Linked DNA regions of Homo sapiens: regions 1 and 3 are each linked to region 2. Evidence: promoter capture Hi-C in 16 types of primary human blood cells and fetal thymus (Javierre and others, 2016). All regions are on one chromosome and are shown on one strand. Each heading gives the region's core, a stretch centred on a gene start or on the middle of the fragment in contact. The rest is flanking DNA. Distances are from core to core; before and after follow the strand shown. Region 1 has its middle 26 kb from the start of GOLGA8B. Region 2 holds the start of AVEN (apoptosis and caspase activation inhibitor). Region 3 has its middle 8.3 kb from the start of GOLGA8B.

Region 1 (5,050 bases), core at 2,274-4,773, 570 kb after region 2:
GAAATATTTCTAGTAACCAACATTTATTGAATGCTTCCTATATAGTCGGCATTGTGGTAACATTTTGTGGCAGGGACTATTATTGTTATCACTGTTCGCTATCGCTAAGTGGATGTGGGCAAAGTCACATACCAAATAGTTAGTTGCACCAGGATTTGAATTCAAGTAGTTTCACCCCAATGTCCACATTCCAAGTCCCAGCATACCACAGTGCCACAGGGAGGTGACAGCTCTCTGTGGCTGGGCCCCTCATCATACCACATTTCTAAACAAGATTATCTTCTTTGTTGCATTTTACATAGGCATGGTTAAAGCAGATGTCCCTATGTACTAAACATGTAAGCATTCAATCATGGAAATATTTATTCGTGTATTTACATGTCAGATCTTATAGAGCAATATTTAAGTTATCAAAAGACATAGCATGTAGTACTGAGTATTAGCATAATATTAAAGAAAGAACCTTGGAGTTGCAATCAAAAGGCATGGACTCATTCTGTCTCTTCTACTTGAGAAATGAATGTTTTAAATAAGTTACCTGAGCGTCATTGGTTCTCAGAATCCTCATTCATAAAAAGAAGATAATAATATTTATACTAATACTTTTCTCTGACTGGATTTTTACAAAGATTAAAGGGACTAATTAACACAAAAGTAAGAGTAAAGAATATAGTAGAAAAGCAATAGATGATGGTGCTTTTGCTTCCTTCTTACCAAGCAGATGTTTTAAAAATAGTCAAAATAATATCTTGCAAGTACCCAGAACTCAAACTATTTGATGATGGGTTGCTTAACTTTTAGTAATTATGATGGAAACCAAAACTTGTCATTAACTAAATGATTACATCATTTTATATTATTGGTGAGAAATCATTTTAGTACTATAAGCATTGAGATGTTAATTAAATGATTCACACTGTTCATAAAATTTCTAAAATGAAGATAGTTTAAAAAGTGATTTTCAGACTGTGAAGTTGTAGCCCATTAGAGGGTGATGAAATCAATTTACATCTCATTTTAGAGAGAATGTTTATATTTTAATACAAAAAGAGGAATATATCACTCATAGTTAAGTATTATTTTTGTGAAATTTTCCATTTGATTTTATACACATACAGACATACACATGTCTGTACCTGGTCATATGTATGTATGTGTGTATGTATTGGTTTGTGATATAAATGTTATTTCTTACCATAAATTTCACTATTTAGAAAAAGTTACTCTCCACAATGCTGGCTGTCAGTGTTCCATACACAGGATGGTGTGTTTAAAAGGTGTGCATGTTACCCAGGCTTGGCCAATCAGAATCTTTCCTAAGATTGTTAAATTAAGTTTAATAATTGTTAGATTGTTAAATTAAGTTTTAAATTAATTGTTAAATTAAATTTCCTAAAATTGTTAAATTGTCTCTGGTAGACATTCTAGAAACATATGTAACAGAGACAGACACACACACACAAACACATACACACACACACACAGAGGGAGAGAGATGAGAAAAGATATGAGGTGATAAGGAAGAGAAATGCAGAAAAATAGAGATATGCATAAAGAAACACAGAGATAGAAAAATGCAGATAAATAGTGACAATAAATTAGAAAAATAGAAAGGCACTGCAGTGAAAGAGACACAACAGGGGGACAGAGACAGAAAATGCAGAGAGATATGCAGAAAGAACTATACAGGGGCAAAGATACACGGAGAAAAGGAGACAGATGCCCAGATAGAAATACAACAGAAACAGAAGAGAGATGAAGATCTTATTGAATATCTGGAACTAGTTGCTTCTGTAATCAACTTGACCTTAGGCTTCCTTGTACCATGAACAAAATATATTTGGTTTTCTATCATTTAGAACCAAAAATAGTACTTTTATTGCTGGTTATGCTTTCTTAACAATAAAAATTATTCTCAATTTTAAAAAAAGGTCACTCTTGTGAGGGCCTGTTAGTCTCTGATCAGGATGTTTGCTGCATGTTTTCCCCAGAAAGATGCAGTAGTACTGCTATAGGTATCATCTGTACTCACTCATGGATTTTGCTCCCCCGACGTCTTAGCACATCCTCTACAATTATGACATGGGTTTTTATCCCAGTGCTCACCAGCTTGCTATCATAACACATAATTTGGAAGAATTTCTTGACATCTTTTGCTTAAAGCTAATTTTTTTTTAAACTGATGCATGCTTTCTGCTACCAGTTGCTTTTAGCCATCAAAAGGAGGCTTGGCGAATTTAAAACAGAGAGAGAGAGAGATGAATTATTCTTTTTTATTTGCTCATTTCCCGACAATTCTTGCTAATTTTAATGGGTTTTGATGTGCAAAAATGATCTCCTGAGAACAGTTCAATCATTGCAGAGCACATTAAAATAACAAGGCATTATGCCGTCTTGAGTCCCTAAGAGAGGCAGGTTTGGCAGGGCAAAAGTGCAAGAAAGACCTGCACATTACAGTGAGATTTTACTGGAGATGTGTGCATGTGAACTTCACTCAGGCTCAGGCAGCTGAAGGGAAGGAGATGAAATCTCAGTACCAAACCTGGCAGGCCAGATTGACATGAGGGCCATCTGGTTCCTCTCACGAATGTCAGGTAGCAGAATGAGCAGACAGCGAAAGCTCATTGCTGAGATCTAGTTCATTGTGAACTGATTTAGAGCTGCGGGAAAATTTTGCTTCTCTGAACCACACGGCAGAACATAACCTTCACACATCTCCCTCTGCCTTTAGCAAACTGGGCAGGGGAGTGGGTGCCTTGAAAACAATGACAGGACGGAAAGAGGAAGCGGTGTGGTTGACGTTTTACTTTTAAACACATTTTTAAAGAGTATAGCTTTACAAACCCCTCCACTGCCAACCCTCAAGTTCCACCTTCCACTCCTCTGTAAAACTGAGCTGGAAATAATTAAATCTAAAGCTAAAAATGAGAGGTGGGGAGACATGTTGTGTGTAAAAATATGGCTAAAGAAGCTTCGCTATTTCTTTGAATCCCTTGATACTTCTTTTATGCATATACTTACGAGTTGTTGGAGAGGAAAATATAATATAATATTTTATCTTCTAAATTAAAGAGTGTATTTTGCTGCCATTAAGATACCATGGGCTTTGCTTTATTGGATCATTAATTTGACTTTGAATGGTCAAAGGCTTATTCAGTAAGCATGTATCTTGCAACACACAAGAGGTATATATTAATGAAAGACTAAAACACACCCAGGAGTCTCTTACTGCCTTATTAAAACATTTATAAATGGGACTTTAAAGTGCTGCTAAAATGAAAATGAAATGTATTGATTCTCATGCCAGATGCTCTTTAGAAAATGCAGTGTGTGTTATTCCCACCTCAAATTATAACTTCAAATCTGACCTAGATATACTTAAAGATAATTCTCTGAAGACAAGATGTAGCAGATAAGGCAATTAAACCAAGTCATTCAGATTTCTAGGATGGCCTTTGTACACTAGGTGGCAGAGGCTTCTAAGAATATCTCTCTTATATAAAGTACCAGAGGTTTGTTTAGCTTTGCAAGCTCAAGCAAAACATTCATGAAAATGTTCTTCTTCAGCAGTGGACTAAGATTCTCCTTTTTACAAATAAGTGGAAAAATTTAAACAGCATGTTTTGTTCTGTGTGAACCTTCAACAATGCAATACTTTTTTTTTTTAAATTTTTTGGAGACCAAGTCTTGTCTCTGTCACCCAGACTGGAGTGCAGTGGTGTGATCTCAGCTCACTGCAACCTCCACCTCCTGGATTCAAGCAATTCTTGTGCCTCAGCTTCCCGAGTGGCTGGGACTACAGGCGCCCGCCACCACGCCCGGCTAATTTTTTGTGTTTTAGTAGAGACTGGGTTTCACCATGTTGCCCAGGCTGGTCTCGAACTCCTGAGCTCAGACAATCCACCCGCTTCGGCCTCCCAAAGTGGTAGGATTACAGTCATGAGCCACCACACCTGGCCAAATGCAGTATATTTTTTGTTTAGTGAATTTATTTTTTCATAGAATAGCAGAATAGGGTTTTGATAGTGTTAATTTTTAATTTAATTCAACTTTACTTTGGTTTAATTCATTTTTAAAAGCTTTTTTACTTTAACACAATAAAAAAATTCTTAAATGGCATGATTCAAATGAATGCATGGCGGGGGGGTGATGCCTCACATTCTTACAACACCTCTTTATTTTCGAAAGACCTTTCACATGCATTTTTAAATTTGATCCTTAAAATAACACTGTACTGTATTAGCACAATTTTACAGGACAGGAAATAAATTTCAGACAAGGTGAGTAACTTCTCCAACATTAAGTAATAAAGTGCTACTGTGTTTTTCCTTTCTGTTGGAGCACAAGAACATTCAATAGAATTTTCACTGAAGACGAGCTGTAAGTATATTAGTGGGAGTGGGAAGTGGAAGTGTCATCTATTTTTTAAAAGGTGGCAGATCTACAATATTTAGCAAGAAACAGGGAGAAGGAAAAGCCAAAACAAATGAACTGATTTATTTAAAAACATTATCAGCATTACCCTGAAAATTATCAAAATCTTATATGCTATATCAATATATTTTTGGAACCATTTTATGGAAGTATCCTTAATAGAGTTTTAATGCATTTAATGCATGCTGTTTTTTTCAGGTGTCCAAAGAGAAGTGCGCCTTTTGCAATAGATCGATATTTCTCTAAGCCTGTTTCCCACACCAACTAATATCAGATTCACTACAGTTTCTTAAGAATAGACTTCTAGCTCCTACTCCCAACCAAATTAATCACAGTTTTTGGGAACTAACCCAGGTATCTTCATTTTCAACCAGCATCTAAGACTTGGCTAGTAAGTTGTGAGAATCAACAGATTTTACTTTTTTTGATATGATATAGATGCAGGCAGAAATATCTAAATAGGTTTATAATCACGCCAAATCTTTTTTTTTCAATTATCATAAATTACCACAAAAATTTTGTTCCATGTGAAAAGATTACCTAATGAATGAATAAGTAACTTGGAACTTTAAATAAAGAAAATGGACAGACACTCATTCACACACGTACATAGAGG
Region 2 (4,754 bases), core at 1,856-4,355:
TTTGTGTTTTTTTTTTAAAGTTAATGATTGTATCTAGTACAATAATGCTTCTAGTGAGTATTCCGTGAAGATAATTATGCTCACCCATAATCAGTAAGCTTAGAGCTCAGACCATTTACAGAAGGAATGATTTAAGAGCAAGAGACTAAGAGATGTACTCAACTTAGTACTCAACTAAGTTACCCTGGAGTATTACATAGCTATGTAGAAGTTGGTTAGATTGATTTTGTTTTCCATTTGTATGCAGTGGTCCAAAATAGAAAGCAAAGGTGTACACAAAATTGGTTTCTGAAGGTGGACAACTGGTCTTTACATGGCTAGGAGTCTATTATGATTTTTTTTTCCTTTGATCATTTCGGTTACTCTCTCCTTGGGGCACAAATGCACCATGGGATATGAGAACAAGAAGGCTTCAGGAAAGTCAATCAATCTTGTCTCATGTAATGGTTAAGCACCAAAAATGGTGTCCTAGCAAGACTAAATACAAACAGTACTTCAGAATCTGAGAAATGGAAGGAACTTAGAGATGACCAATCCAAACCAAAATTAAGGAACAATCTGCCCAACATCCCTCCCTCCAGCTTTGGCTGAAAACATGATGATGAAGGGATAAGACCAACTCGACAAAAGAAAAAGCCTAAAATTTTAACAGAATGTGTTACAATACTATCTTAAATTTTTTAAAGTCTTGTATTATTCTTTCTTTTAATGATATACCATCATGACCAGGCGCAGTGGGTCACACCTGTAATCCATATCCCAGCACCTTGGGAGGCCGAGGCGGGTGGATCACCTGAGGTCAGGAGTTCGAGACCAGCCTGACCAACATGGTGAAACCCCATCTCTATTAAAAATACAAAATTAGCCGGGCAAGGTGGCTCATGCCTGTAATCCCAGCTACTTGGGAGGCTGAGGCAGGAGAATCACTTGAACCCGGGAGGCGGAGGTTGCAGCAAGCCAAGATCATGCCATTGCACTCCAGCCTGGGCAACAAGAGTAAAACTCCGTCTCAAAAAAAAAAAAAAAATATATACCATCATTTCACCCAATTTAATTCAACAGAGATTAACAAAACAGAAGCACCTTCACTCACTCAATTCAACTTAAAGACACTTATTAGTAAAGTCCTGTGCGCCAGACACCATAGTTAACACCAAATGTACCATTACTACAATTACTCTTAAAGCACGATCCCTGCAGCTAAGGAATATCTACTTTGTTCTCAATAAAGTGGTAACTGGTTCACGAAAAAGTAAGAGATAAAATACTGTTGACTCAAGGGCAGCTTGATATAAATCCCAGCTCTGCCACTAGCTGTGAAAGCTTAGGCAAGTCAGTTAACCTGTAAAAATAAAGATTACTCTCTATATATGGATATATAAATAATATATAACATTGTAGTTAATATATAATTACATACTATTATATTACATAATTCTACATTACATATATATTATATATATATAATAGAGTTATAAGAACAAAATGTGATATATAGTGGGCACTAGGTTGGTCTTAGTTTCTGTCATTTACCTTAGTTTCTGTCAGTTTACACGAGGTAAACTGACCCTAAAAATGTTTTTATATCTCATTCAAGTTTTGCCTATTACCTATCTTAATCCTAACAAGATTTAAGTTTGTTACATTTAAATTTAAGTTTTATACTTTTTTTTCCAGCTCTGTATTGCTGTATACAACTACTCTCTTTAGGGATATCTTATCTGCTATGCCCTCAAGATATTGTAAATACTTCAGTAAGAGCAAATTTTGCCTCATGCAAAAAAGAATTTTTTAAATCAGTGTGCATAAGAATGCAGAATATAAAGATGGTCTTGTCCTACAGATGTTAAGGTAACAGAACAACTCATAAAAAGACAGTCCTCTAACTCCTTTAGCTGAGATATGGTTAGCTTTGCCCCCATATATATCATCCCCTGCTCCAATCTCCAAAAACTTCCTTCTATGAATGTGTCAATAAGACTGATGATATTGCTATTAAAACTCAGAACTTGACTGCTCATTTATAAATTGAAAATTCAAAACGACAAAGCCCAGTGCTCGCTGATTTCTACACATACAGGCATAATAAAAGAGAACTACGCTATTACAAAGAACTATGCATCTGGTCCCGCCCCCAAATACTAGAGTCCAGTCGTAGGGGTCATTCTTTCACTCAACAAACTTTTTATTATGCGCCTACTGTGTACTAGGCATTGCACAGACAGTTAACAAAACAGACCAAAAAATCCTTTCCCTCCTAATAACAGGAGCGTGCCCGTAAAGGCTGCCGAGGGACCACGTCGTGGCCGCGCCTCCGTCCCATAGTGGTACTCGTACAGACAGCCCAGCCGGCCCACGGGCCGCCGAGACTTGCAGCCCTGACACACGGCCTTGGCCTCTGGGTTCCTAACCCGGACCCTGGGGCAGGCTGGGAAGCCCTCCTACCCCCACTGTCTCGCGCCAGCCCGGCCAGGAGGCCACGAGGGCCAAGCGCATACCCAGGCGCGCCCCCGCCACCAGGCGCGCCCCCGCGCCACCATCCGCCCGTCCCGCGCAGGCGCCGGCGCCGCCGCCCGTCTGGCGCGCGCCTGGCACGCTCTCTTGCGGCTCTTGACTGGCGGCCTCGGCCCCACTTGCCCCAGTTACACGCGGTCCCAGCCCCACCAGCCGTCGCCTCTTACCGGCGCGCTGGCCCCTGCGCCCCAGCCTCCCGGCTCCCGGCGGCTGCCTCGCGGGGCGCCTCCTCCTCCTCGGCCTCCGCGAGCGCCGCGGAAGCCCCGGCCACGGCCACGGCCCCGGCGTCCGCCTCCGTCCCCGCCGCCGCCTCCGCCGCCGCCTCTGGCTACCGCCGCTGCGGCTCCGGGCCGCTCGCTGTGGCGATCTCCGCCAGGCCGGCCGCGGCCTGGCCGCCGCCCACGGCCTCCCCGAGCTCCTCGCTCCGCCTGCATCTGGCCGCCGCTGGCGGTGCTGAGCGCGCGGGAGCCGAGCTGCGGCGGAGACGCCCTGGCCCCACCGGAAGCGGGCCGCACGGAGGAGCCGCGAGCGAAAGGCGCCCGGTAGCAGCGAGGCGCGGGGTGCGGGGCTAGGGATCGAGGCCGGCCGCAGCGGAGCGGGGCGGGGCGGGGCGGCCGGCGTCCCGCAGGTGGGGCCGGAACCGGGACCGCGGGAAGGCCGGACCGCTGGGAGCTGGAAGTGGTGGGGGTCTGCAGCGGGGCGGGGGGATTCTCAAGGCATCAGAGATAGGTTGGGGGAGAGACCGTGCTAAGTGCAAGGACGAGTCATAAAATAAAATTTGTATGATGTGAACTCTCGGAAAAAAAAAGTTTAAACGTATGTATTTGCATAAGAAAAGGTCTAAACAAATACATACTAAAATGTTAGTGGTTAACTGCTGAGATTTGAAGTGAGTTAATTTTTTTTCCTCCGTTTAATCTAATTTTCAGCAACGAATGTGTATCATTTTAAAACTATACCGAAGTCAGGGTTCAGGAGGTGTGGATGTAAAGACAAGAGTTTGTGTCTGGTGAGAGGTGGACTGCAGCACGTGGGAGAGAGAACAGTGCGAAACTGGGAGATGGCTAGAAAGGGCGTCAAAGTCCTCAGCAGAATTTCTGTAGAAATGACTACTACAGCTGACATTTATTGAGCACATGAGTATTTCATTCTCATAACAGCTCTATGAGGTAGGGATGACTGTCATCCTTATTCTGCAGTGAGGTAACAGCCTTGGAAAGGTTAAAAAAAACTTGACTAAAGTGAATAACTAGGTAGTGGTGGAACTGGCATTCTAAGGCGGTCTCACTCCAGTCCCTTCTTTCAACCAAGGAGAAAACAGGAAGGGGAACAGTTGGTTACACAGATGCATGAAAGCAGTTTTTAACTTGGGACTGAAACCACCTGAAAATAATGAAAGCAAGGGCTAAAATGTCAGCCTAGCAGAATAAGTGTTTTCTTCCCCCTCAGTACTTTCTGGTTCTTTCCTATATCCATACATAGTTAATACTTTTCATTGCTTCTAATTGCCTACTCTGCATCAGGCACAGTGCTATGTCCTGAAATTAAAAACAAAAACAAAAAAAAAACCTTGCCCCTGCCCTCAAGTAGCTCACTGCCCACAAGGAAGATAATCTAGTCGTGTGAATAGATGATTACAGTACCGTGTTGCTGAGTGCAGTGAGAGATTCAAGATCAAGGTCCAAAGAAGAAAAGTTAAATTATATTTAAACGGGTTACCCAAGGCTTCATGAGAAATAGACCCCTGAGCTAAAGCCTAATGGTTGAGTAGGAGTTTGCCTGGTTGGTAAATGGGAGTAGGGGCGCCTTCCAGACAGGGGGAACTATTGAAGGATTGTCAACTCCAGAGAAACAGTCTTAAAAATAGTAACACTTGTAGAGCACTTATATGCACCAAACACTATTCTACATACTTCTCATATCACTTCATTTGGGACTAATAGCTGGCCTACGAGGTAAGCTAGTGTTGTCTCCATTTTACAGATCAGGAATCTAAAACAGATGTTAAGTAACTTCCAAGATTACACAGTTACAGGCCAGGTGTGTGGTTCGTGCCTGTAATCCCAGCATTTTGGGAGGCTGTGGCGGGTGGATTGCCTGAGACATGAGTTCAAGATCAGCCTGGGCAACATGGTGAAACCCCATTTCTACAAAAATTAGCTGGGCATGGTGGTATATGCCTATAGTCCCACTACTTGGGAGGCTAAGATAGAGAATCATTTGAGCCCAGGAGGTTGAGG
Region 3 (4,741 bases), core at 1,183-3,682, 550 kb after region 2:
GTCAATAATTAGCACATCTGTATATCAGTGATTAATGCCATCAAATCAAATGCTAGCTTTCCCACATTTTTCTCAAATATGATTTCTTACCAATGGCGGGGTGTGGGGTTAATATAAAGGTCCTAAAAGAGAATTTACAATCATAAATGTATTTAGATAATGTCTTCCCAGATGGACAAGTTGTAGTCTGTAGTGTGGATAAAATTTTTAGGAAGTACTTTAAAGCAGAGGCATATTAGAAACTATGAGACATATTAAATCAGAGACAGATTAGAAACTCTGTGAACAGAGGTGAGAAACATGTACTGCCATAAAAGAAAATGAGGTTTATTTAAGCCACTAAAAGTAAGGATATAAAATGGACAATCCTGATAGTTAAAAAGTTTAGTGTTCATCCACCGGGGCCTGTCGTGGGGTGAGGGGATGGGGGAGGGATAGCATTAGGAGAAATACCTAATGTAAATGACGAGTTAATAGGTGCAGCTAACCAACATGGCACATGTATACATATGTAACAAATCTGCACGTTGTGCACATGTACCCTAGAACTTAAAGTATATATAAAAAATAGTTTAGTGTTCATCTATTCAAAATATAGTATAATTTTATTTGAGATTGTCTTTTTTAAGTTTGAAGATTAAAAAAATTGGTATCAAAAGAATTATTTGAAAAATATTCTTCATCTGAGTAAAAAGTCCTGTGTCTCTGGGTAGATATTAATTTTATTCCAGTCGATTTAACAAGTTGTAAACTGGGGAGTGGGAGGAATAAAGCAGGAAAAAGTCATCCCACTTAAAATTACCTATTTGATTAGGATGTCAGAGAGTAGCTGATTCACTATGCTATGGTTATAGCCATATATGATTTTTAGTTTAATTTTTGAATTCAAAGGTTGGCAATAACCAGATCAGAAAATGTATCGTATGTTGCCGAACATTCGGAAGTTGCTTTCACCTCACACTGCTCTACCGAAACTTCTTTGTTTAATGTCACCAGTGACCTCTGCATTGCTAAGCCCAGTGGTGGTTACTTGAGTATCTTTTTATTTGGCCTAGCAGCAGCATTTGACACTTTTTATTTCTCCCTGTTGTTTGGTACATTTCTTCTCGTGGCTGCACGGATTCCACATTCTCTTGGTTGTGATTCTTTCTCACTGGTCATCTTTCCTAACCTCCATTGTTAATTTCTCCCCTTCTCTCCGCCATCTTTAATATTGGTACACCTGAGAGCCCAGGCTCTGGTTCCGTTCTCTTCTCTTAGAAACCCTTTGAAGCAGGCTTTCTAAACCATGGCTCTGCTGACATTTTGGGTCAGACAATTCTTTATATGTGGGGCTATCCTGTGCATTGTAGGATGTTCAGCAGCATCCCTGGTCTCTAATAGCCTCTACCTATTAGATGCCACTAGTAATTCATTCCCCAACTGTGACAACCAAAAATGTCTTCAGACATTGCCAGCTGTACCCTGGGGAGAAATAATTGCCTTCAGCTGAAAACCACTGACGTACTCTTTGCAATCTTGAGGATATCATTCAGACTTATGCCTTTAAATACATCAATATGATATTGATTAACATATTTATTTTATGAACCCAGTCTTTCACAAATTTCAGGCTTGTATATCCAACTGCTTACTTGGCATATTCAGCTCAATGTCTATAAATATCTGAAACTTCAGATGTTCAAAACAAAACTGATCTTCTCTCCTAAACCCTTGATCTCAGTCATTAACACATTTTTATGCTAATTCCAGCTTTCTGTTCCCCAGACTCAAAATCTTGTCTTCAATCTTGACTTTTCACCTTATCCACATTCCACATTAATCTGCATTCAGCCCATCTGCACAGATCTTCTAAATACATTCAAAATGCAGCCATCTTTCACCCGGGTGTGGTACACTATCATCTCCCTCTGGGATTTCTGAATCTTTTGCTGAGATTCCATCGTTAATTCCAACCGCTCTCCCTACTTCCACCCTTGCTTCTCTGCTCCTCCCCCTGCCCTGCATAATCTGTTCCTAACAAAGCGGAAATCTGTTTCAGGTCCATCACCCTCTGCTACAATGATTCAAAGTCATTTTCTTCCTGCCTGCCTGCCTGCCTGCCTGCCTGCCTTCCTTTCTTCCTTTCCTGACCGGAAATCTGTGTCAGGTCCATCACCCTCTACTACAATAATTCAAAGTCAGTTCCTTCCTTCCTTCCTTCTTTTCTTTCTTTTCTTTCTTTTTTCTTGACAGAGTCTCGCTTTGTCATCCAGGCTGGAGTGCAGTGGTATGATCTCGGCCCACCACAACCTCTGCCTCCTGGGTTCAAGCGATTCTTCTGCCTCAGCCTCCTGAGTAGCTGGGATTACAGGCGCCCGCCACCATGCCTGGCTAGTTTTTGTATTTTTAGTAGAGACAGGGTTTCACCATGTTGGTCAGGCTGGTCTCGAACTCCTGACCTTGTGATGCACCTGCCTTGGCCTCCCAGAGTGCTGGGATTACAGGCATGAACCACCCCAATCCTGGCCCCAAAGTTTTTGTATTTCTCAGAATGAACTTGAAAGCCTTAGGATGGCCTAATAAGTCCTGCAGTACTTAGTTCCCAGTGACCTCTCTGAGCTTCCCTCCTGCTCTCCCTTCCTTACTCGCTTTGCTTTTTTGCTACCTGTACATCTTTTTGAGAGTGCCTATTTGATTTTTTAATGAGGTTTTTATTGATTATTGAAAGGTTTTTATATACATTAAATATGTGTTTAAAAAACCATTTCTCTAGGTTTGTGGCTTGTCTTTTCACTTTGTGTATGTGTTGTGTTTTTCATATCGTGATTAAGAATTTTTACCATACCAATGATCATAAATATTTCTCCTATACCTTTTTTTTTTTAAATCTTTTTTTTGAGACCGAGTTTCGCTCTTGTTGCCCAGGCTGAAGTGCAGTGGCGCGATCTCGGCTCACCGCAATCTCTGCCTCCCGGGTTCAAGCGATTCTTCTGCCTCAGCCTTCCTGAGTAGCTGGGATTACAGGCATGTGCCACCACGCCCAGCTAATTTTATATTTTTAGTAGAGACAGAGTTTCTCCATGTTGGTTATTTCTCCTATATCTTATTCTGGAAATTTTTCTTCTTTAAACTATAATATTTATGTCAAAAATCCCTTTCAAATTATGTGTTATATACAATGCGAATTAAGGATTGAAGTTCATTTGCTTTTACATTTGATTATTTCATTGCTTGGGGGAGAATTGATCTCTTAATAATGTTGGGTCTTTTGTTTTATTTTTTCTTTTTTTTGAGACGGAGTCTCGCTCTGTCACCCAGGCTGGAGTGCAGTGGCGCGATCTCGGCTCACTGCAAACTCTGCCTCCCGGGTTCGCGCCATTCTCCTGCCTCAGCCTCCCGAGTAGCTGGGACTACAGGCACCCGCCGCCACGCCCGGCTAATTTTTCGTATTTTTAGTAGAGACAGGGTTTTGCCGTGTTAGGCAGGATGGTCTCGATCTCCTGACCTCGCGATCTGCCCACCTCGGCCTCCCAAAGTGCTGGGATTACAGGCGTGAGCCACCGTGCCCGGCCAATATTGGGTCTTTCAATCTATAAATGCTTCTCCATTTACTAGGGTTTTCATCATTCTTTCTTAGCAATGTTTTGAAGTTTTCAGTCCTCAGGTCTGGCACATCTTTTGTTACATTTATCCATAAGTGTTTCTCTTTTTTTTTTTTTGAGGCTATTGCAAATGGTACAATTACTTTTATTTCAATTTCCAATGTTCATTAGTAGTGTATAGAAATATGACTAATGTGTTTATGTTGATCCTACAAAATTGCTAAAGTTTCTAATTAGTTTTAATGTCTCCTTTTTAGATTCTATAGGATTTTCTATGTAGACAATCATATTGTCTGTAAATACAGTTTTGCATTTGCTGTCTACTCTGAATAGCATTTATTAATTTTTCTTGTTATTTTGAACTATTTAGAACATCAACTAAATGTTGAATAGAAGTGTTTAGAGTTGACATTTTTGTCTGACTTTTGATTTTAAGGGGAAATCATTTAGTTTTTAATCTCTAGCTGCAATGTCATATATGTGGTCTCATATGAGCCTTTTATGAGATTCTTAGTCTGCTTAGAGTTTTTATTATGAATAGATTTGGGATTTTTTCAAATGCTTTCTCTGTATCTGAGGTGATCATATGTTTTTAAAATTTGTTAATATGATGAATTACATTGATTGGTTTATGAATGAACCAACTTTGCATTCCTAGGATAAATGCCACTTGATTTTGATGTCAACATTTAAATAATATACTCAGCGCTAAAGAAAGTAGGGGGAGAAATAAGTTCTCCAACACTGCTGATTGGGATGTAAAGAGGCAAGACATTTTTGTAAGACAGTTTTGCCTATGTATCAAATGGCTTACACATATTGGCATCATCTCATCCAGCAATTCTGTTTCAAGAAATTGTAAGGGGAAAAATCAACTGTGAATAAATATTTATAAACATGTATATTTATGTAGAATTTTGGAAAACAGAGATGTAATTTTTCAATAACAGAAGAGGGCTTAAATAAGTGACAGAGAAATGTTATTAACATTCTATCATTTTGTAATGATAAATTAAATGTAAATTAAATGACAGTACTTACATTTAAAATCACATGTATAATATGATCCTCTTTATATAATAAGCATGCATATATTTATGCATAAAAGGAACACTGAAGAATTTACCAGCTAATTTTAACCATTTTTATCTCCTGAG

What was found. The method cuts DNA at HindIII sites, captures the fragments that hold promoters and counts their contacts. A CHiCAGO score of 5 or more calls a contact.
Region 1: a contact is called between a fragment that was not itself captured here and the fragment with the promoter of AVEN in region 2, in 2 of 17 cell types (total CD4 T cells and naive CD8 T cells). The highest score is 5.5, in total CD4 T cells.
Region 3: a fragment that was not itself captured here is called in contact with the fragment with the promoter of AVEN in region 2 in 9 of 17 cell types (fetal thymus, activated CD4 T cells, total CD8 T cells and 6 more); the score reaches 11.2 in fetal thymus.

What each region holds. Positions count from the first base shown.
Region 1 is chr15:34,607,175-34,612,224 of GRCh38, forward strand. No RefSeq gene overlaps it. Among named protein-coding and RNA genes, the nearest start is that of GOLGA8B, 26 kb to the left of the region's middle. The HindIII fragment of the contact is 1,108 bases long and covers 2,970-4,077 here.
Region 2 is chr15:34,036,099-34,040,852 of GRCh38, forward strand. AVEN (apoptosis and caspase activation inhibitor) reads right to left here and starts at 3,106. Exons shown (of 6, transcript NM_020371.3): 1 at 2,682-3,106. The coding sequence starts at 2,948. The region is part of intron 1 of CHRM5 (cholinergic receptor muscarinic 5); the gene reads left to right. RefSeq lists silencers at 2,079-2,138, 2,489-2,548, 2,639-2,848, 3,029-3,198. The HindIII fragment of the contact is 8,272 bases long and covers 1,322-4,754 here.
Region 3 is chr15:34,589,550-34,594,290 of GRCh38, forward strand. No RefSeq gene overlaps it. Among named protein-coding and RNA genes, the nearest start is that of GOLGA8B, 8.3 kb to the left of the region's middle. The HindIII fragment of the contact is 8,309 bases long and covers 1-4,741 here.